7 separate regions of the Homo sapiens genome follow, and all the other regions are linked to region 1. Evidence: promoter capture Hi-C in 16 types of primary human blood cells and fetal thymus (Javierre and others, 2016). All regions are on one chromosome and are shown on one strand. Each heading gives the region's core, a stretch centred on a gene start or on the middle of the fragment in contact. The rest is flanking DNA. Distances are from core to core; before and after follow the strand shown.

Region 1 (3,188 bases), core at 178-2,677:
TTTTTATTTCACCTAATGACTAAGGTATGATTCTATGTTTTATAGATAAGGAAACTGAAACTGAGGCTTTAATGACTTCCAAGGAGCTTGTCTGCCAGAAGTTGTAATCAACTTGTGCCAGCTGATCTGTCCACACCCTCTATCCACAGGTGTTAGATATGTAACCTAGGTCTGAAAAATATTTAGAATATTCTTGTGATGAAAAGCTTGCAATTCCACAACACAGGGGAATCAGCAAAATCATGGGAAAACCAATAGAATACATTTCTAACTCATGAATCATTCAGAGAAAAATCCAGTCTTGGGTTTTCCCTCCCCCTCATCCCATTTCTATTCCTGATTAGTCATCATTTCCTGCCCAGCCTGTCTGAGATGTTTCTTCCATCCTTTCTTTTCCAGTAACAGTAACCTGGTGCGGGTCTACAGTATCTGTTATCTCAGCTGATTTCCTTTCTGCCTTTTCATGAACCAGAGACATGTGATTTCCAATTAAAGCACAGCCCTGACCATGTCTTTGCTCAGCTTACAAAACGTCAACGGCTCGCAGCTATCCACCGAATTAAGCCTACTATAATCCCCTTCCTTCCACACTACAACCTATCCACGCATCTGTCCTCTTACTCCTTAGCTTCCATCTTACATGACTAAGAGTTGTTTCCCCAAATACACCCTTATTTACTTTTTTCATTTATAACTCACCACCACCCCCTCCAAAGTTTCACGTGGGTAAATTCTAGACCTCCACGTCATAGGCCAACTCAAATGCCAATCCTTCTAATGAACCTTCTAGAGAGCCCGGGCCTGTTGTCATCTCTATAGCCAATCTTTGGCATCTTGTGGCAATAATCTCATTCTACCTTGTAGAGCTTTCTGGTCTGACTTCCCTTGCCACCTTCTGCTCCCTTTGCCTAAGTATAACACTTTTGAGGAAAAGAACGCTGTTTTAATCATCGTCGCCTCGCCCACAGGCGGTGCTTTATTGTGCTTAATATCGTTTAACGCATCACACACTGCCGAGGGGGTCGGAGGCGGACGCCTTTTGCTGTATCCACACAGACCCGCGCAGGCACACACGTAGGCCGTCTGCCACTCTGACAGACACGTGTCCCCTGGGCCACAGCCCTGGAACTGTCTCGGGATTCCCAGCCTGTGGGCGCTTCCATGCTGGCCAGCGGAAGGGGACGCTTTTTTCTTCAGAACAGCTCCAACGGATACCTCTTATTTTAGACCGCCTGCGGATTCTATCTATAAATCAGCCTAAGCCCCGCTTCCTTTTAAAACAGGATTACGCCGGGTCGAGGGAGCCTGGCGTGGCCGCGCAGTGGCCGGGTCCCGCGGATTCCCCTCCAGCTCCCGCTTGGTAGCGCCCGCTTTGTCAGCGCGCAGCGCTCGCCGGGCGCCCTGCAGGTCTCGCCAGGTCTCACAGCAGACGGTGCCGACGCAGCGGTGTTGCACCTCCCTCTCCGGCTCTGCTGCCCGGGATTTCCCCAGAACCTGCGCCGCGCGAGAAGGAGCCTGGGAGCATCCGCCCACACTGCCCGGACAGTCGGCTCGACTCGGTGCCCTCGGCCCCAGCCGGGCTCCGCTCCTCGGGCGCGCGAGGGGCCGTGGTGGCGGCGGCGCCCGGCATGTTTCATAGTCCGCGGCGGCTCTGCTCGGCCCTGCTGCAGAGGGACGCGCCCGGCCTGCGCCGCCTGCCCGCCCCAGGGCTGCGCCGCCCGTTGTCCCCGCCGGCTGCTGTTCCCAGGCCCGCATCCCCCCGGCTGCTGGCGGCGGCCTCGGCGGCCTCGGGCGCCGCGAGGTCGTGTTCCCGAACAGGTGAGTGCACCCCAGTTCCGGGCGGAGAACGCCACGGCCGCCAACGCGCGGCCGCCACCTGGAGACCGCGCGGAATGAATGAGAAGCCCGGGGCTGCCGGTCGTGGAGTCTGGCCTGAAAGTGGGTCCTTTACCGGAGCAACCTTCTGCGTTCCCTTTTTCCTCTTTCCCTGTTCCCCGACTTGCCTGGGGCTTGCATCAAAGCTAGTAAGAACTGGGAGACTGTATTCAGGTTCCCGCTTGACCCTTAGAGGCCATGCTTTCAGAATTTCTTGTTCTTGACCGTTAAATTTCCCCCTTCCGAGGCCGCGAGTTACTATGTTGGTTACATTTTTTATTGCACGACTTAACGGAAATTTTTATGGAAAAAAAAATCTAAATGATGCTTATTTGCTTATATAGCTTTCATGGTCTAGATATTAAGTTTTTTTTTTAAGTCGTGATAATAACACATTGATTCGTTTTACGTTGTTTTTTTTTTTTTTTTTTTTTTTTTTTTTTGAGATGGAGTCTCACTGTGTCACCCAGGCTGGAGTCCAGTGGCACGATATCGGCTTACCGCAACCTCCCGCTCCCGGGTTCAAGCGATTCTCCTGCCTCAGCCTCCCGAGTAGCTGGGATTACAGGCGCCAGTCACCACGCCTAGCTAACTTTTGTATATTTAGTAGAGACGGGGGTTTCACCATTTTGGCCAGGCTGGTCTTGAACTCCTGACCTCGTGATCCACCCGCCTCAGCCTCCCAGAGTGCTGGGATCACAGGCGTGAGCCACCGCGCTCGGCCATTTTACGTTTCTTTGGATTTTTTTTTTTTGGAGGCTTCCACTCTTTATAGTTAACATCATTTTTTGTCCTGTGTATCTAAGATCTTGTAAAAGTGAGGCCTTAGTTTCACCAAGAGCTGTTTTCATACATCATAATAACTACCCTGAGTTTTCCTTTTTTGCTACCTCTGTTTCTGCCTGGGCACACATTACCATGGCCACAAATTACATACAAATTAATTATACTTTAAAAATTGATAAATTTTTTCTTTCAAAACTAGGCAATACATAACTTTTTTTTTTTTTTTTTTTGAGACGGAGTTTTGCTCTTATTTCCCAGGCTGGAGTGCAATGGCGCGATCTCGGCTCACCGCAACCTCTGCCTCCCGGGTTCAAGCGATTCTCCTGCCTCAACCTCCCGAGAAGCTGGGATTACAGGCATGCGCCACCGCGCCAGGCTGATTTTTGTATTTTTAGTAGAGATGGGGTTTCTCCATGTTGGTCAGGCTGGCCTCGAACTCCCTAGCTCAGGTGAACCTCCCGCTTTGGCCTCCCAAAGTGCTGGGATTACAGGCGTGAGCCACCGCCCCCCCGGCCTATAAAATTTAA
Region 2 (3,188 bases), core at 207-2,706, 960 kb before region 1:
ATGCATATGAAAGAGGAGAAGCACCCCAGAAGAGGACCCCTTTCCTTTTCTGTCCTTCACATATACAAGTCTTAGTGTAGAGGGCTTAGAAGTATGTGTTGTGCAGTGTTTGTAAAACTTTTATTTATAGAAGGTTTGAAATTATCCATTATGAGTCAGATGTGCAAATATGCAATTTTCCGTATTTCTCCCTACTGCATTCAACTTATTCTCTGAGCCTTCTTTTAAAAATGTAATGCAGGCTTCTCCAGGTAACTCAGCCACATCTGATTGGAAAAGATCTCAAGGTAATTATTTTGTTAATAGAGATACAAAACTCCGACAAGTCCTTTTTCAAACTCTGTAGCAACAATACATACACATATTTCTTATATGCTTGCCTCTTGCCTTACTCCTCCATGAGAAAGCTTTTGAGAGTAAAAAATTGCTAGCAGAGTATCACAACAGAGGTCGCGCGGGAATGTATTTTACAAGGGCTCTTCTCAGGTTCCAATGGACTGTTATTACTCTTCCCATGAGTCTTTTTGTGGCCACCTTGGTTCTTTCTGTATCTACATCTAACGTAAAGTGGTCCCATCTTGCCTTTGCACACCTACAAGCATCCTTGCTGGCACCCAAAACCCGTAGCATAGCCTTGATATCTACACATTGTATTTGCTCATCTCAACCTAGGTCTCCTATGATTTACCAACCTTCTTTGCAAATCCACATGTTCCATTAAGGCATGAAGCAATTTCTTGATTTTCTTTACACCAGGTCTTTCATAACTCTGAGATGTAGTGGAAGACACTATCTCAAGCCCTCTTTCTGCCTGAAAAATCCAAAACCTTTGGATAAAACATTTTGGGCATCCCATTTGGAGAGCATAATGAAGCTTTGCCTCCCGGAAGGGAACAGAGAACATGCCTCTTCTCCCTGAAATTACCAAAGATGTGGGAGTGAGCTTCTCACTGAAGCCTCAAAGTGTTTCTTTCTTTCTTGTTCCAATGCTTTCCTCTAGCTGAGGAAAGCTTTTATCTAATCCCTGTTTGGCAGGAAATTGTCCCGAAGCTATCCTTCCTATTTTATAGTTTATAGTAAAAATGTCATGTTCAATTCTCTATACTTTTGTTCTTGATGTTTAAAGGGAAAAATCTGGAATTTAGAAAACTGTTTTCAAGTGTTTGTCGTTTGCTACTGAAAGCCCATATTTTAGTAATATAATCTCAGAAATGGACTTCAAGAGCCTATTTTAAAGGGTGAGGGGTTGACTTTGACTCTTTTGTTCTCTTTGCATTTCAGCTATAACAATCCTAATATGGTAATGTGCTGCTTGGAAATAATCTGCAACTGATGTAGACATCTTGCTAAGTAGTTGTATGTATTATTCATTTTATACTCACAACATTGAACAAATGAGGATACTGAGGTACAGAGAGATTAATTAGCTCATGCAGGACCACACAGTTAGTGATGAAACCAGGCAATGAAGCCAGGCAGCTTGCATCCAGAGCCTACACTCTGCTATGCTACACCACTTAGGGCAATCTGCGCTGATCCAGAAGGGGAGGAGTCACATATAAAGAAGCGAAAAACAGAAATTCCATTTGAAAATATCTAATTATGTATGTGTATATATATTTATTAGTGCCTAATTTAATGTGTAGTAATATATACAGTTCCAATTCTGATCACAATCTCAATCTTTCACAACAAATCTTTTAGTCATACTTGGAAAATTCTGGATTAAAGACCTTTCTGATACCATCATCTATTATTTCTGGGTGTGGGGAACTTAGCTACGAGAGTGCACAGAAATGCACAAAACTAGGGAGGCACATTCTCTTCCATAATGCTGTGTCCACCCAGTATATTTCTCTCTCGGTGTATTCCATCTTTCACTGGAGCTAATAGTCATAGAAGTTAAGCTTTTCTCCTATGCCTAAAATTGTGTTTTTATTTTCATGTGGATGGTTTCTCTTTGTAATTATGTGAACAACTCATAAGCATGCTTAATGAATCACATCTTGATTCCTTGCAACTCATTGGAGAAATATGTTATCATACTTCAAACATAATCAGGAAATGTCATACCTATTAATGGGTTCATTGTGACAAGTCATGAAAATATTACAATGTGTAACTTGGAATCCAGTAAACAATATTAGAAGAGATTTTCTAAAGTATAATTACAATTTTTTCTCTATATGTGCCGAAAAAAGCGTTGTCAGGAGAAAGAAAGTGTACTGGCTTATCACGTGATTCTTATCTTGATTTAAGTCATGTTATTACTTATACACTATCCATTAATTCCGAAGAAGACCTAGTGTACTTTAATATATCAAACTATGAAATACAAATTTATATTTCTTTCTTGATTTATATTCTTATTTTGATTTAAGATATATTTTATCATGCAACTTTTTTGCATTTTATATCATGTATGAAATCAATGAAAGTATTCTACATATATGATATCAAAAATAAATAATACTAAATTATATTACATATGAGTCAGTGTGGAAACAAAGATAAAAGCAAAACTAGTTTGGTTTCTGAAGTACTGCCCTTCCATCATGTATCATTGTTTAGTTAAGGTAACAGAAACTTCAACTGGTGTTTCAATTGGAGGAAATTTAATACACGGTATAGTTACAAAAGGGTCAGAAAGCCTAGAATAGCCAAAAGAGAAAAGTAAACTTCCTTGATTGGTATCTGCAGGAAGCAACCACCATCCTAGGCTAGAGGAGCAGAAGGGGTATAGTGTCACCTATAGCCACGGTCCCTGCCCACCTGGAGCTGCTGGAGTCCCACTGCTGCTACTCCTATTTGGAACCACTGCTGAAGCTGCCTTGCAGAAAACTCTTGCAGGAACTTGCAGGAACTCCCATGTTCCTGATAGTGTGGGAAACTTGGGGCCCAAAGCTACCTGCAGATGTCACAGAACATGGATAGCTGGGACAGCTGGGACAGATAGAGGCAGGACACTGTGCTGCCAGGACTGCTGCTACTGCTGCTTTGCTATGACCCACAAAACCTGTGCTGCTGCTGGAAACATGCTGCAGGAACCAAGTGCTCCACATCACTTTTTGTGACTGCTGCTAAAGGAGTCACAGTATTAGCACCCCCACCCCCCACCACCAAAAATTTTAAAAGGGTGTGAGTGATATGGTTTGGCTGTGTCCCCACCCAAATCTCATATTGAATTG
Region 3 (3,188 bases), core at 302-2,801, 830 kb before region 1:
TGAGTTCAAAGGAAGCTCAAGATCGTGAGTATCTAATAATGCAACAGCGCAGATAATCCCATGAAATTAGAGGTGACATGCTGTGAAGTACGGACGACCGGACAGTGCTGACATTATGTGGCATCAAGAAGTACCCGACACAAATGCAATATTATGTCTTCATTTAATGCACTGGGAAAGCCAGGAAGTTACTGACCCTAATAATTTGATTCCACGTTACCAATACACATTACTTGCTTAACATAATCGCCTCTTCAGACTCTCTCCAGTTCAGGCAACTTAAACCTTCAACTGCCTGCACAAAGGCTGATCGTTTTTCAGCCATAGTGCTTATCAGCCCTCACGGAGCCTTCACCCTGCTGGGTGCCACTAATGAAGACCTCAATATAATTTCTTCCAAGATGAAAATGCAGTTCAGAATCAGGGGGGAAAAGGCACAGCCTGCCTCACTACCCAAGCTGGGTGTTTTTAGCACACTAAGTCCCAGCACATTATACCGAACAGCGATATCCCCTGTTGAAAACATGCTAGCCTAGCCAGTCAGCAACTGTCATTCATTATGCTGCTTGGAGCCTGACACTTCCCCGGATTCCCAAAGCCTTCAGCCTTGATGAGGAAACACATTGACCTCTAAATCCTGACATCCTAATATGAAAGTAGCAGATGGTCCCCTTCCCTAGTGTGAAGAGGGTCCTGTGGAATTTTCTGTTAACACTATAACATGCACTGCTAGTTGTGGTTGATAAATGCTACATTTAAGTAAAGAAAATCACTGAGCCAATCAAATATAAAAGGATAAATGGCATAAAGCAAATTAAAGATGAATTCTGTTTCTTCGTAAGAAGGGCTATTGTAAATGCAAAAGGGTAAGAAGGAGAACATGAAGGTGTATACACAGCTTTTCAACCACTCAGTGTATTATTTTGACCTTGAATCCTTTCAGCTTTTATAAGATCCCCATATGGGGAGTAAATTCTTTCTATGGAGGAGAGAGGAAGAGAGGAAAAGAAGAAGAGAAAAAGACTCTCTGTTCCTTGCAAGCATATGCTTAAGGTATATAAAGTTTCCATTGATAAAAAATGAAGTGACATTATTAATTGCAGTGAAGTAACCTATCCAAAACAGAGAGTACGGTCACATCACATGATGCTGCAAAATAGCAGAAAGAAGTAAGTCTGAAATTTGGGATTGTGGCTCTCCCAGCATAGAATTTACCTTCCCAGTCCAGCTCCTCCAAGTCAGCCCCCTGCCTGTTTCCTGCCTAGACATTACAGTCTCTCTGAGGGCCGTTTCCTAAATTGATCTAAGCAGAAGGGAACCTAGAAAATCTAACCTTCTAGGTTGGTTTCCCTTCATTCTGTTTGTTAATAACAAAAATAACAGGAGCAGCTGCTACCATTGGGCTGCTATGTGCCCAACATTTTATTAGGCACTTTACATACGTGTCTCCTTTTGTCCTTAGAAAATTCTGTGAGTTAGGAACATCAGCACATTTTATATATGAGAAAAATAAAGTCTTCGAGAGCTTAAATAACTATTTAAGGATACACAATTAGTAAGTGGAAGCCCCAGAATTCAGGTGCATACACACCCTACCTTGAAATTCGGGCATTTGGACCACCAAAGTGTATTCACTTTCAAGCATGTGGGTCCCTCAACTCTATTACTTTTAAGGAAAATCATGGTTGTTTAATATAAAGTTTATTAGAGCTTTTATCAAACTAGTATTTCTCATGTATTCTTTAACACTACAGTTTTATCTATCATAAAGAAGGGGGCAAACTGATTTCATGATTTTTATCACTTTTCTGTGTAACATGAATTGTAATGTCAAGTGAATGTTTTCAAATCGTTTCACTGTTTGGGAAATAGAATTTTAAAATTATGTATTATTTAAAAGAAAACAGAAGCTCACAATAAATTTCCCTAAAAAAACTTTTTTTTATAGAGAAGGAGGGAAGGTAACCATGCCTCAGATAAACAGAAACAGACTAACAATCTTACTATCAGCCAAATATACTACACAGATATTAGTGAGAAAAATAACAGCTTAAAATATAAACAAAGGAGAAAGAGTCTAATCTTGTTGCAATGCACAGCATATCCAGTAATTTCTCTATAATTATTCTTTTTTAAAAAAATTTTCTTTTTTTTTAAGATAGAGTCTCACTCTGTCGCCCAGACTTGAGTGCAGGGGCACAATCTCAGCTCACTGCAACTGCTGCCTCCCAAGTTCAAGCAACTCTCCTGCCTCAGCCTCCCAGTAGCTGGGATTATAGGCACCCATCACTATACCCAGCTAATTTTTTTATCTTTATTAGAGACAGGGTTTCACCATGTTGGCCAGGCTGTTCTCAAACTCCTGACCTCTAGTGATCCTCCTGCCTCGGCCTACCAAAGTGATGGGATTACAGGCATGAGCCACGACGCCCAGCTGATAATTAGATGGAATTAAGCAATAGCAAGTTGGTTGGGGTATGGCAAAATAGCCACTAGCTTCCATTCTTAGGTTCCATTTCACTTTGACAGAGGGAAGGGGGTGGGGAGGTTCTCTTGGCTGTTTTGGCATAAACAGCCATTATTGACAGAGGAGAGCAGTTGACTCCTTCAGAAGAGCTTGGTCCTACACAGTTAACTCTAGGTTTCAGGTATCAAAGTGTAAGAGCCACTGGGTGAACTGATAAAAGCTATTAGGCCATGCCTGAGCAATCTTTCTGGAGGCTTTAGACGCACAGCGCAGATAGCATTACTAGTAACCCAAGATTAAGGCAAATGGCACTTGATAATGAAGGGAATTAGAGGAAGGAACCAGTAGGCCACGGATATTTCAAAGCCTCTGTGTTCTTGTGAGGTATCCACCAATCCTAAATGCAACAAAAGCATAATTTTTAAGCTGAGTAAAAATGACTCACTCTTAACAAAATTAAGTTCTATTCTTTCTCAAATGTTAGTACATGTTTGTTATGACTAACGAAATACCATTTACAAGAGTTACTTAATCCTAACAGCTTTTTGTCATATATGCTCTTTTCAATTAACAGGCATTAAGTATGTGAGAGTCTGCTATTTTTATTAGTTGTAAATGGTCTTCAGTCGAAAAGGTCTTGGATAGTCTTCTTTTCTTATGGGCTTATTTTAAATTGGCACTTACAACCAGTCTACGTCACACATACTTGCTTTATTTGAAA
Region 4 (3,188 bases), core at 260-2,759, 780 kb before region 1:
TATCAGAAAACCAACCAGCATTACATGTTCCCAACTTTGGCCGGCTGATACTGGAGAGCGGCATAAGGTTTTTCATTTTCTTCTTTTCCTAGACACCCTCCCATCTTCCCCAAACAAAACTGTTTATCCTATTCTCCATCATTTATACAATTTTTTATGTATAATTTAAAATCTGATTATGTCATTTTAGTGCTTTCAAAATATGTTCAGGATATGCAAAAAGCCTTCACATTGCATTCAAGGCTCCATCTGGTCTAAGCTCTCCCTACTTCTTCAGTTAGCTTCTTCCCACTAGAAGGATATGAATCTTCTCTGCCTGCAGCCTCTGCAACTAATTGACTATGTTTTATACTTCAGATCTTAGTTCAATTTTCCTTTCCCAGGGGAAAACTTCTCCAACCTATGACTGGGCCAGATCTCTTGGAGTATATTCATACTGAAGCCCTTGGCCTGTCTTCCACAGTGCTTATCACAATAGCAATTTTATATTTACCTATGTGATTTCTCGATTGATAATGATTTCCTCCCACTTGACTCTGAGCTCTAAGGGTACAAAATCATATCTATCTTAATCACAGTTTTACCTCCAGTGTTTAGAACAGTGTCTATCATATAGTGGAAACCCAATATATATTGAATATATAGTGCACACGCAAATTCGGTTTAATGACCCCTGCTGTGTACAGATAGATAATATTTCTGTCCTTGAAATCTGTGTTTTACAGATTATTTCTGGCAATACTAACTTAATCTAAAGGTATAATTTTAATGGGAAGTACTTAGGAACTATGGGTATTAGTAAAAGAAGAGAAATATTTACATACTTAGATATTTTGTCCCTCCTCATGTCATTTGTTATTCTGCCTATTTAAAAGGCCAACTCAGCAATATGAGTATGTTATGACAAAGAGATATATGAACATATTTTAAAAGCTTCTAGAATACAAAGGTACTTTCCTCTGTCAACAGACACACACACACAGAGAAAAGTAGTTTTTTTTTTTAAATTAAAGTAACATTTGATTATCCGCTACCTGGGAGCAGAAATTGTGGCTGATTTCATTTTAGATCTCTTTTTATTGCCATTTACCATTCAGTAGCAGTTTGTGGAATAAATAAATTAATATATGAATATTTTATCTGTGCTACTGTAAGATATAAGCTATATTTATATGGAATGATCATGTTCATCATAATGCTAAGCAATGAGCCAAAGTTACACAACTAATACATGGCTGAAGACGGAGTCAAGTCCAACTGTATTAAGCTCCAAAGCCCGCCAGCCTGACAGGCCAGCAGTCAATAAGTAGTACATGCATTTGAATGCTGAGTATGTTGTACACAATATATTGTAACTTTAAACTTTCAATTACTTATTCAAAAATAATTTAATATATGCCAAAAAAAGGGCACTGACCTAAGTAGTATATGGGTTACAAAAAGATCTTATCTTTGTATGCTTGAAATGTTGGCAGTTTTAAAAGGGAAACAAAATATAGACACCTAAAATATTAAGGAAGAATAGAAGGTATCATGCTCAATGCCAAATGTGAAGCAGAGATAGAATTTTCAGAAGAATTTAGAGATGAAAGAAATAACATAAATTAGAATAAACAGGAAATTAATTGTGGGAAAGAAAGGATTTAAGATGACCTTTGAAGAGCAGATAAGATTGAGATAACCAAAAGGAATAGAAGTGCATTCCTGATAGAGGAATTTCAGGAAAGGAAAAAAATACTTATTATTATTTCATTATAACAATTTTAAATAATGCAGAGTGTTTAAAATGAAAAAGCCTTCATGAAGCATATACTACTTTGAAGATCTTTTTTTGGTTAAAAAAAAAAAGACTTCTAACACTGTAAAACTCATGATTAGTGTTGTCAATACTTACTAGCACTGTATTTGGCACTTAGCCATAAAAGCTCACATGAACTCTCAATCACATATGTTTGATAAGTTTGATAAGAGCAAGTTTCCCTAGTAATATCCATTAAATTCTGTAATCAGACTGTGCACATCACATTTTATCAAAGTAGTTAGCCTTAAGGAACTGTGATACTCTGAAATGCTCATATGACATCATAAGCTTCCCACAAAGTCGAAGGAAATTTGCTATTCAGAGTGACTTAGCACTATTCAGTGTGATTTTAAACCAAGACAAGCAGGAATGTAAACACATTGTTACAACAATAAAATCAAAAAAGACTTTTGGAACTGTAGTTCCTAATCTGTTTAATATAAGGAAATGAGTCATTTGACTCTGTCATGCAAACTCTGTTTTTTATGAAGTATAAGACTTGGTGACCAACTAAGTTGTGAGGCACAGAAGTGTCTTGGTCACAATGACTAAGTAAAGTTAAATGCCTTAATGATATAATCTACAATAAGAGAAAACTTCAATATTTAATTTGGTCTAGTTGGTCAAAAGGTATCCAGGTGAATTTTCATGTTCATATTCTTTCAAGTAAGCATCTTTCTCCTGGAAGTGTCAAAGAGAATAGCTGAGGGTCAAAGAAAGGTAGATATTTCTAAAAGTTTGGCATTGCTGGTGAACTGCTTGTCAGTGATAAAATTGCATTAAAAATATCTTAATTCAGAAAGGTACTTTATCACAGGCTTTATATCCTGAGGTAGACATGTTTATCATGTAGTCACATGACATGCATGTGTCTAACCAGTTAAAAATAATCAAGGTGATTCATAAGAATGAATTGGTTTATTTTTTCTTAATTCTTTCTACTATGCTCTTACCGTATTATGAGGAGTTCCACCCAGACTCGTACAAAAGCTGGTAATGGACCAAAGACTTCCAAAATATATGTGTAATGACCTCCAGATTTCTTTATAGTTGTTCCCAATTCAGCATAAGACAAAGCTCCTGTGAAATATTTGTCACAAAATGGTACCAATTTAATACATTTTCAAGACACCCAGCATTAGAATAGATACAATAATGTTTATATGTTGCCTGAGATGTAACTGCCTCCTTTGGTCTGAATGGCATCCTTACTCAAGACAAATAACCATCATCTAATTGCTAAGACCCGCCAAGTTCCTTTTCTAACATCCTCACAGTTGAGATTTAGTGTATTCTATTTGAACACTATAATTTTACTTGAAATGACAAAGATACATGTCTGCAACAATATCATGTGTTCCAGAATTTTGAGCTGAAAACCTGGAAA
Region 5 (3,188 bases), core at 226-2,725, 660 kb after region 1:
AGATTTCGTCTGTATAACATGACTCCCTTGGCTAGCTGAGCCTCCTCTTCTTCCCCTCCCATATCCTGTCTTGCCACTAAAACCTGACTTACCACCATAACCTGTTTTTTTGGCCATGTTCTGAGCCTGCATTGCTTCTGTGAACCCAAAATATCTGATAGGTCTCAACCAATTTAGAAAGTTTATTTTGTCAAGGTTAAGGACATGCCCGTGACATAAAAGGACATGCCCGTGACATAGCCTCAGGAGGTCCTGATGACATGTGCCCAAGATGGTCAGGGTACAACTTGCTTTTATACATTTCAGAGGGACATGAGACATCAATCAGTATGTGTAACATGTACATTGGTTTGGTCTAGGTAAGGCAGGACAAATCAAAGCAGGGGCTTCCAGGTCATAGATAGATAAGAGATAAAGGTTACATTCTTTTGAGTCCTTGATAAGCCTTTCACTGAATACACAATTTAGTCTGGCTCAGTGAATCTGCATTTTTTTTTTTTTTGAGACAGAGTTTCACTCTTGTTGTCCAGGCTGGAGTGCAATGGCATGATCTCGGCTCACTGCAACCTCTGTCTCCCAGGTTCAAGTGATTATCCTGCCTTAGCCTCCTGAGTAGCTGGGATTACAGGCATGCACCACCACGTCCAGCAAATTTTTTGTATTTTTAGTAGAGACAGGGTTTCTCCATGTTGGTCAGGCTGGTCTCGAACTCCCGACCTTGGGTAATCCACCCGTCTCAGCCTCCCAAAGTGCTGGGATTACAGGCGTGAGCCACCGTGATCGGCACATTTTTACATAAGCAATCAGATATGCGTTTGTCTCAGATGAGCAGAGGGTGACTTTCTGTCCAGCACCTGTGAAGATAAGCTTTTCCTTGTGGGCAAATTGTGCTTTGTAGCTATCTTATTTAGGAATTAAAATGGGAGGCAGGTTTGCCTGCTGGAGTTCTCAGCTTGACTTTTCCCTTGGCTTAGTGATTTTGGGGTCCTGAGATTTATTTTCCTTTCACATTTCTGTAGCCTCAAGATGGCATATGAACTTCTGTACCTCACTGTGGAGCGGGGTCTTTGTTCTGAAGGCTGCTATGTATACATATGAAATAAATGTGTGTGATCTTTCTTTTAATGTCTGTTAATTAATCTGCCTCATGTCAGTGATTTTCAGTGAACCTCCAGGGGGCCAAGGGCTTTGGCCCCTACAGTATGGACATACAATTTTGTTTCTCTTAGGGAAATACCTATGAATGGAATGACTGGGTTATACATTGGAGGTATGTCTAACTAAAAGACTCCCTTCCAAACTGTTTTTCAAAGTGGTTGTACCGTTTTACATTCCCACCAGCATTGTATGAAAGTTTCAGTTGCTCTCATATCCTCTCCTGTCTTTTTTAATTGCTATCATCTGTCTTTTTGATTTTAGACATTGTAATAGGTATGTAGTACTATCTAATTGTGATTTAAATTTGCATTCCACTAATGACTAATGACGTGCCCCATCTTTAACGCAACATTTCCCTTTACTTGCAGGTTATTTTGCTTTGCAAGTTGGAAAGGCAAGATTAAAATACAAAGTTACGCCCCCAGCAGTCACTGGGTCACCAGAGTTTGAGAGAGTATTTCGGGCACAGTAAGTAATGCTTCTTCCACCCTTCATGGATCTGTGCCTGCCATACAGACACAATTCCTGACTAGGGGAAAGGGATATGGAGAAGACCCTAAGTTCATGTGCAATATCTAGTTATAACAAGTCACTCTTCACAGCCAAGACCGTTCTCAGAATCCAGAAAGTTTGAAGGGTTCGGGGCATGAAGTCTCTGCCCACATCTATTACCAATTCAGCAGGGTATATTTACAGAAAAGGCTGGGATCTCAGGAGGGACTGCTGTGTCTCCCAAGGAGGGTCACTGGGTCAAAGAGGCCCCCTGGAGCCTTGTGAGACCACAATAGTCTGAAGTTGGATTCGTTATGCTACAATTTTCTATCTTATTTTTTCCTCCCTACTTCAAAACAGAGGTAGATCAGGATTAATCTTTTGCCAGTTTCTCTGTGAACCATTTCTTAAAATCAGAAACCTGTAAGAATGAGAAAGCTTGCCAGCTCACATGCATGCGCCATGTTTTTTGATCATCTTGTGCTCCTTGTTTTTTCAGACCCACACAAAATGTTCCACCATAAACACCGTGAACTTGCCTGCTGCAGGAATGCTAGGGCGTACTTTATATTTCATCCCCCAAAATACGTGCTTTAAGAAACATTTCATGCGTCACCACTGATATATCATTGGGTTCTTTTGTTACCATCTTGGGATTTTTCATTTATGTTTACAAGTGAGATTGGCCTACACTTTGCCTTTCTTGTCTGGTTCTTGTCTCATTTTGATACAGATGAACCTAGTGTCAAATGAGTTGGAGGAAGCATCCTGTTCTACTTTCTCAGATAATTTTAATAAGGTTGGAAGAGTGTGTTCCTTCAAGGTTGTGTAGAACTTGCCTTAAAATAATCTGGGCCTAATGTTTTTCTGGTGGGAAATTTTTAAATTATGGGATTTGCATTCTTTAATGATTATTGGACTAGGCAGGCTTTTTGTTACATCTTGAATCAATTTTGGTAGGCCTTGGTCCTTGAGATGATAACATTGGTCTCTTGATTATCCACTTGCTCCAAGGAGGGTTTTACAGACTACTCCCTAGGCTTGAAAGCGTGGGGTGAATACCACCGGGAGTACACGAGATAATTGTAAGAGGTGTGTAGACTTGGTTTTAAATAACATTGAACTACATGATGAGAAGTCATTCTCATTTCAATTATCTTTGAATCCTTATGGTTAAGTCAAGTGGAAAGTATTGGTTTGGAGCCAGCATGTCCCACACCTCAAAATTAATGTTTATTTTTATCAAAGTAATTTATGTACGTGATCTGAAGATAAAGTGGGATTACAGGTTTTATGACAACAAATAACTCTTCCTTGTCCCTACCTCCCCTCTCCCTCTATCCCTAGAGATAACCCTTTTTGATTACTACTTTGGGTATTTACTTCTGTATTTCTAAACATTATACTTTCACTGCTATTTATTGATTCACAAATTTTAGACATTGTCAGTTGGCTTCTTTTTATGGAAGAAATAATTTCATGCTCCTTTACTTCTTCTTTTCCTTACCTCATCCTTCCAGTAACATTATATCACTCTG
Region 6 (3,188 bases), core at 386-2,885, 650 kb after region 1:
TTTGGAACGTAAGTTTTTGTAGAGTATGTAAGTGTATGAGTGTGTGTTTTGAATGTGTGATGGGAGTACATGAATGTGAATGTGTGAGTGCACAAGTGTGTGTGCGTGTGTGTGGGTGTTTATGAGTGTGGGTGTGTGTGCGTAGGAATGTGTATGAATCTGGATGTGTGTGTGTGTGACTTTGTGTGTGTGGGGAGGGCTGCATGTGCTGAGAGCTGTCAAGAATGGGGACTTCTATTTCTCCTCACCAATCTCTAGATCCTGCTTTATTTTATCCTCTCCTAAGCCTTATGCAAACTTAAGACAACTCAGGTTGAGACCCTCTATTACTGTCAAAAGCCATTTTGAAGCAATTCAAATGTTCTGTTTCTATTCTTCTGGGAAATCTGTGCTGTCTCAGAAATTCTAATGGCATTCTAAAATCATCTGTTGCTTTGTAATATGGCCTTTTCAACAAATAGGCCTAGTCTCTTCTGCTTTCGCCCAGGGTTGGAGGGCATCAGGATGGCAGAGAGAATGGGCAGGGTGGTGACACCTGTGGACAGCCAGCATCATGCCGGGTTCTGTGCTATTTGCTTCCTTCACATGACTTCCTTTATTCATCAGAGGAACCCTGCAAGGTCAGTATTATTATTTCCCTTTGAAAACACATGTCCAGGAAGTTTAGCAACTTTCCACCGTGACACAGAGATAGGAGCTTAAACCTTGTACTCTTTTTTTCTACACTACATTGGTAACTGATCTTTATTTTCCTTGCCTTTCTTCTCTTTTTCTGTCTTTATCTTTGAGCCTTGATATGTCATTACTGGTGCTGGGTAGTGGGCAGTTTCTGCTGGAAGGTAGCTGGCATTCAACTGTAACCCTTTGCCCTGTCTGGTCCAGGGCAAAGTCTCCTCAATGGGAATAAAATGCCTTTGCCTTCTTTAGCTCATTTCTTCACACTCAGGGCTACAAAGCAAAATGCTGCAGTTTCTGAAATGGGAGAAAATATTCCGTAGGATGACTAAAATTTCCTAAATTTTTGCAACATGTAGCAAAATGGAGCATAATTTCAAATTGTGTTTATCTGAGCTTTGCTTAAAAACTTACTGTGTTAAAGCCACTATTAAACCCAGCTACTCAGGAGACTGAGGTGGGAGGGTTGCTTGAACCCTGGAAGTTGAGGCTGCAGTGAGCCATGATCATGTCACTGCACTCCAGCCAGGGTGATAGAGTAAGACCCTGTCTCAAAACAAAACAAAACACAGAAAAACTGCTGTGTAGTTACAAGATTCTTCAACTAGTCAGGACTTCTAGCAAGATAATGTAATGAACTCTGGGTACATGGAGAGTTATGTGGTCATTGATAATCATGATCACTCTGATAGTTCCTGGGAAAGAGGTGTATTTTCTGTCTCTTTCTGCTACCTGGCCTGATGGCAGTGAGGACAGCCCTGCTGTAGTGCTCAGCAGAAACCTGGATGATGTGCTGTCAATTTTGGAAGGGTAGCAAGTGAACAGAGAGGGTGAGACCAGGGAATAATTTGCGGGGGTTGCAATTGGTTTGAGGAAAAACCTTTTTTTTTTTTTTTTTTTTTTTTTGAGATGGAGACAGAGCTTGGCAGAGCAAGCTCTGTCACCCAGGCTGGAGTGTTGTAGCGCATTCTCGGCTCACTGCAACTTCCACCTCTTGGGTTCAAGTGATTCTCATGTCTCAGCCTCCCCAGTAGCTGGGATTACAGATGTGCACCATCATGCCTGGCTAATTTTTGTATTTTTAGTAGAGATGGGGTTTCACCATGTTGGCTAGGCTGGTCTTGAACTCCTGACCTCAGGTGATCCACCCACCTTGGCCTCCCAAAGTTCTGGGATTACAAGTGTGAGCCACCATGCCCGGCTGAGGAAAAACATTTCTATAGTTTAATATATCATTTCTTTTCATCTATTACCAAAATTATACTGAAAGAGTTACATTTAGAGTTCACATTTCATGAAAGCAGTTCTTTTACATGGTTCAGGTTTGTTTTTATGTGATCAAATCTTGGCCTCTCTGTTTCACCTTACCTAGAGTATAGTTTTGGTAACAGTGATTCAGTAGTAACCAAAGTCCTCAGAAAGTCTTTTAGGTTTCTTTTGAGTTTACATAGATAATAAAAATATTTTAAAAACATTTTACTATCATTACTGTCTTATTCCATTTTGTTGCTATAACAGAATACCACACACTGGGTAATTTATAAAGAAAAGAAATTTATTTCTCACAGTTCTGGAGGTTAGGAGGTTTAATATCAAGGTGCTGGCATCTGGTAAGGACCTTTGTGCTATGTCATCCCAAAGCGGGGGGGCAAGAGAGGGCCAAGCTCACATTTATAACAATCCACTCCTATAACAACATTAATCCATTCATGGGAGCAGAGCTCTCATGGCCTAATCACCCCTTATTGTCCTACCTCTTAATACCATTATAATGGAAGTTAAATTTTAACATGAGTTTTGGAGGGGACAAACATTCAGACCATAGCAATTACCAGTATGCTGTTTGTCCTCTTATTTTCCTTTTCATAGAAAAATGTAATAAATGGAACATACTAGAAGGATCTATGGGAACAACATTCAGGGAAAATGCCATTCCTCTTCAACCAATCCAGGGAAAACGTACAGAGAAACTCTAATTTTTGTGAGTTTTTGTTAATGCTATGGCAGTATTTCAGCTGTGGGTCACCTGGAAATTTTATCACTGCAGAAGGTGATAAACATTTCATTATACAATGCTCTATTCTTTTATACTTTCCTAGAGGCAATAACTACATATACCGACAATGAAGATCTTTTTAAATAGACACGTGGGGTTTTGAAGCACTTGAGATTTTATTGATTAATTGATTTTTTATTTTTTTACTTTGTGTCAACCATCTCTTAGAATCTGGATTTGGGGGACTGACTTAAGATTGGCTGGGAGAAGTCAGTAGGGAACCTCAGGATTTGTCCAGAAGCTGGGAAGTTTCATTTTTTTTTTTTTTTTGAGACGAAGTCTCGCTCTGTCACCCAGGCTGGAGTGCAGTGGCACGATCTCAGCTCACTGCAAGCTCCGCTTTCGAGGTTCACGCCATTCTCCTGCCTCAGCCTCCCGAGTAGCTGGGACTACAGGCGCCCGCCAACACGCCCGGCTAATTTTTTTGTATTTTTAGTAGAGACGGGGTTTCACCGTG
Region 7 (3,188 bases), core at 365-2,864, 610 kb after region 1:
TTCCAGCTAATTCTGAGGAGCAATCGGGATGCTCTTGAAAGCATTTGCATTGCAAAGTAGGCTGGAAATTGGCCTTGTTTAAACAAGCACTCCCTGTAAGTGCTGCCCACCCTTACCCCCGCTTGGCAGCAGCAACCTGTCCATATGAGAAGCAGCCACGTGAGCCATTGCTGCTGAAAAGAAACCTTTGAGCTGCTCGACTGTTTAACTAATTAATGCCTTGCTCCCCTAAGGTTAGAAAGAAAAGGAGGAGGAAGAATTTGTGGGTGATACACCACTTTGGGTCCATAATATACTTTCAAAGACGAATGCAAGGTGTACTCACTGGGTACTGTTCAAATCTCTTGTGGAATCTTCACTAATCCCTGGCGTTCGGCGGATCACAGCGAGGCCTCTGGCTGCAGAGCCGATCTCAATGGGTCGATAGCAACAGGAAAGACTCTAAAGCTTCTTTTGATCCTAGCATAAATCAGAAGAAAAAAAAATCCACGAGTCCCACCACGGAACATTAGCCGTCTAAGCAGGGATATTTTAAAACTAAGCAACCTCTGAGGCTGACCAGCAGCCAAGAAGCCCAGGGAGTGGAGGACAGCAAATAGGGATGGGGAGGGAGGGTGAGGCCGGTGGGAGCCGGTGTCCTGTGCTGTGACAGATTGACATGTGTCACATACTCCCCTTCTCCCTTTCTCTCTCAAGTTATGCCATTAGAGCCAGACCTACCCAAAATTGTGAAGAAAAGTACAAAGTACAAGTTCCCTCCTTTATTATTATCATTATATTTTTTTTACTGCTCTTTTTTATTTTTATTTTATTTTATTATTATTATACTTTAAGTTTTAGGGTACATGTGCACAATGTGCAGGTTAGTTACATATGTATACATGTGCCATGCTGGTGTGCTGCACCCATTAACTCGTCATTTAGCATTAGGTATATCTCCTAAAGCTATCCCTCCCCCCTCCTCCTCCTTTATTATTACAGTTGACCCCTGCACTGTACAGTTCAACACGGGTTTGAACTTCAAGGGTCCACTTATACTTGGATTTTTTTTTTCAACCAAAGCTAATCGATAATACAGTATTCCCAGGATGCAAAACCTGAGGACTGGCTTTTCACATGGGTTCTGTAGGACTTGAGTATGGACTTGAGTATGTTCGGATTTTGATATCTGTGGGGGTCCTGGAACCAATACCCTGTATATAACCAAGGATGACTGTAGGTTTGTTTGTTTGTTTGTTTGTTTTTCTTAACCATCCTATGTTAGTCTACTCAGGCTGCCATAACAAAATACCACAGACTGGGTGGCTTAAATAGCAGAACTTTATTTTCTCACAGTTCTGGAGGCTGGAAATCCAGGGTCAAGGTGCCAGCAGGCCTCTCTTCCTGGCTTGCGGCTAGCTGCCTTCTTGCCATGTCCTCACATGGCCTTTCCTTTTGGTGTCTCTTCCTCTTCTTATAAAGACACCAGTCCTATTGGAGGAGGGCCCTCCTCTTCTGGCCTTATTTAATCTCAAGTGATCCTCGAAGCTTCTTTAAGGAAATCACTTCCTAAAAGGCCTTAACTCCAAACACAGTCACAGTGGTGATTAGGGCTTCAACATAGGGTTTTTGGGAAGGACACAGTCTAGTCCATAGCATACCTCCCTGCTTTTCTTTCCATGTTTGCACGCCTGTCCCTTTTACTTGTCTCTCCAGTTACACTAAGCTTAACTCAGGAAATGGTCTGACATGGCCCAATGCACTTGAGGAATGGAGAGCTGGATGCTGGAAGGGACCCTTTATTAGGATCTTCTCTAGGAGACAGGATGAGTGTGAAAAAACCAGACTTCAGAGGAGAGTGTGGATCATGCCATGGAGTGTTATGGCTGAAACTAAGTGGTTACTATGCTGTCTTTCTCCTTTTCACACTCAACTTCTAGGAAAACAAAAGCCATGCTGATTTCTCCATTTTCTCACTCCCATTCATTCTCCAACCTAGCCTGGCTTCCATGATGATTCTGAAACATTTTTCAATGGAATGGCTAAAATCTGCCTAGTTAAGTATCTCCTTGTGTTACACCCTATGCACACTTCTTTCATTTATTTAAGTATGCATTCAACTGAGCATTGCATGTAGCCACAGCCCAGTTTCTTCAAGTTTGCCATGTCTGAGGACTTGTAGACCAATGGATCTTCAGTTTTTGGATCATCTTTTAACTAGACTAGGTTGTGGGATTGTATGTAATATTTCTCTCCTTTTATACTTGAATTACAAAAGTGCTTTTCAGATTTCCGACACTGTCACCTACATGATGTCATTTTGTCTTGAGTAACAGCAACATTATGAAGTTCTTTATCAAAATAATTCTATGATTATTGCAATTATGCGTTTCTGAGAAGGAGCAGAATTCATCATAAAGACTGATGACTCTTTTCTTTGGGAAATACCTTGAAAAGACTTTTAAAAATAAGAATGAGATGCCACAGGGGCAGGGATTGTGAAAAGAGGACTGCATGCTGCATGTACATTCACTGTACATGAATTTAAGAGTATTTCCCTATAGGCTTGCAAGAGGGGGCCAGAGGATCATATATATTATAGGAACACCAGGTTTGATTTCCCATTGTGCAGTAATAGATCAATACACCAAAACAGAAGGAGTTGCAACAGAGAAAGGGTTTAATAATGGTAGGGCAGCCAAATGAGGAGACAAGAGGAAACCTCAAATCCACCTCCCTGAGAGGATTGGGGATGAGGTTTTTAAGGGCTCTGTATGGGCAAATGGCTAAAGTGTGGGGATTGTTGATTGGTCCAGAAGTGAGGAGTGAAGTCATGGGACAGGGAGATGAAGAAACAACATTCCTGTGCTGAGTGAGTTTCTTGGTGGGGGTCTTTAAACCGATTGGTGGCAGCCGTTCTGCAGGAATTCAGGTTCTGAAAAACACTTTAAGCAGTTCTTGGGTAAAAAGGTCAAATGTCACAGATTCCATCGATAGGAACAATAGAGGAGCTGGTGGTCAGCCTGCTCTGTGACTCTCGGTTAGTTAGCTGGTGCAGGGAAGTGGGTCAAAGTGCACCTGTGCACCCTGGTCAATGCCTAACTAAAATTCTGCCTAAAGCATGGCTTGTCATTCTTGTTAACCTGTGAGGGTGGTTTCAGATGCCCTGGACAGGAGGAAACGTAAAGAATCTCTAGAGAGGGAAGTGA

Evidence for each region. The method cuts DNA at HindIII sites, captures the fragments that hold promoters and counts their contacts. A CHiCAGO score of 5 or more calls a contact.
Region 2: a contact is called between a fragment that was not itself captured here and the fragment with the promoter of NOCT in region 1, in 1 of 17 cell types (endothelial precursors). The highest score is 7.1, in endothelial precursors.
Region 3: a contact is called between a fragment that was not itself captured here and the fragment with the promoter of NOCT in region 1, in 1 of 17 cell types (M2 macrophages). The highest score is 5.5, in M2 macrophages.
Region 4: a fragment that was not itself captured here is called in contact with the fragment with the promoter of NOCT in region 1 in 2 of 17 cell types (endothelial precursors and M2 macrophages); the score reaches 5.2 in endothelial precursors.
Region 5: a fragment that was not itself captured here is called in contact with the fragment with the promoter of NOCT in region 1 in 1 of 17 cell types (total CD4 T cells); the score reaches 5.4 in total CD4 T cells.
Region 6: a fragment that was not itself captured here is called in contact with the fragment with the promoter of NOCT in region 1 in 7 of 17 cell types (total B cells, total CD4 T cells, naive CD4 T cells and 4 more); the score reaches 7.8 in total B cells.
Region 7: a fragment that was not itself captured here is called in contact with the fragment with the promoter of NOCT in region 1 in 6 of 17 cell types (total B cells, naive CD8 T cells, naive B cells and 3 more); the score reaches 8.4 in total B cells.

Annotation. Positions count from the first base shown.
Region 1 is chr4:139,014,354-139,017,541 of GRCh38, forward strand. NOCT (nocturnin) reads left to right here and starts at 1,428. Exons shown (of 3, transcript NM_012118.4): 1 at 1,428-1,818. The coding sequence starts at 1,629. RefSeq lists enhancers at 1-987, 124-1,045, 1,078-1,427 and a silencer at 1,568-1,867. The HindIII fragment of the contact is 5,482 bases long and covers 205-3,188 here.
Region 2 is chr4:138,054,089-138,057,276 of GRCh38, forward strand. All of the region lies in intron 7 of LINC00616 (long intergenic non-protein coding RNA 616), which reads right to left. Among named protein-coding and RNA genes, the nearest start is that of SLC7A11-AS1, 33 kb to the right of the region's middle. The HindIII fragment of the contact is 897 bases long and covers 1,009-1,905 here.
Region 3 is chr4:138,185,927-138,189,114 of GRCh38, forward strand. The region is part of intron 6 of SLC7A11 (solute carrier family 7 member 11); the gene reads right to left. Among named protein-coding and RNA genes, the nearest start is that of SLC7A11, 55 kb to the right of the region's middle. The HindIII fragment of the contact is 5,238 bases long and covers 1-3,188 here.
Region 4 is chr4:138,233,571-138,236,758 of GRCh38, forward strand. SLC7A11 (solute carrier family 7 member 11) reads right to left here. Exons shown (of 12, transcript NM_014331.4): 2 at 2,755-2,881. Among named protein-coding and RNA genes, the nearest start is that of SLC7A11, 7.2 kb to the right of the region's middle. The HindIII fragment of the contact is 1,156 bases long and covers 932-2,087 here.
Region 5 is chr4:139,677,017-139,680,204 of GRCh38, forward strand. MGST2 (microsomal glutathione S-transferase 2) reads left to right here. Exons shown (of 5, transcript NM_002413.5): 2 at 1,527-1,626. Among named protein-coding and RNA genes, the nearest start is that of MGST2, 13 kb to the left of the region's middle. The HindIII fragment of the contact is 1,221 bases long and covers 866-2,086 here.
Region 6 is chr4:139,660,099-139,663,286 of GRCh38, forward strand. No RefSeq gene overlaps it. Among named protein-coding and RNA genes, the nearest start is that of MGST2, 4.1 kb to the right of the region's middle. The HindIII fragment of the contact is 5,469 bases long and covers 1-3,188 here.
Region 7 is chr4:139,628,217-139,631,404 of GRCh38, forward strand. No RefSeq gene overlaps it. Among named protein-coding and RNA genes, the nearest start is that of QKILA, 6.6 kb to the left of the region's middle. The HindIII fragment of the contact is 178 bases long and covers 1,526-1,703 here.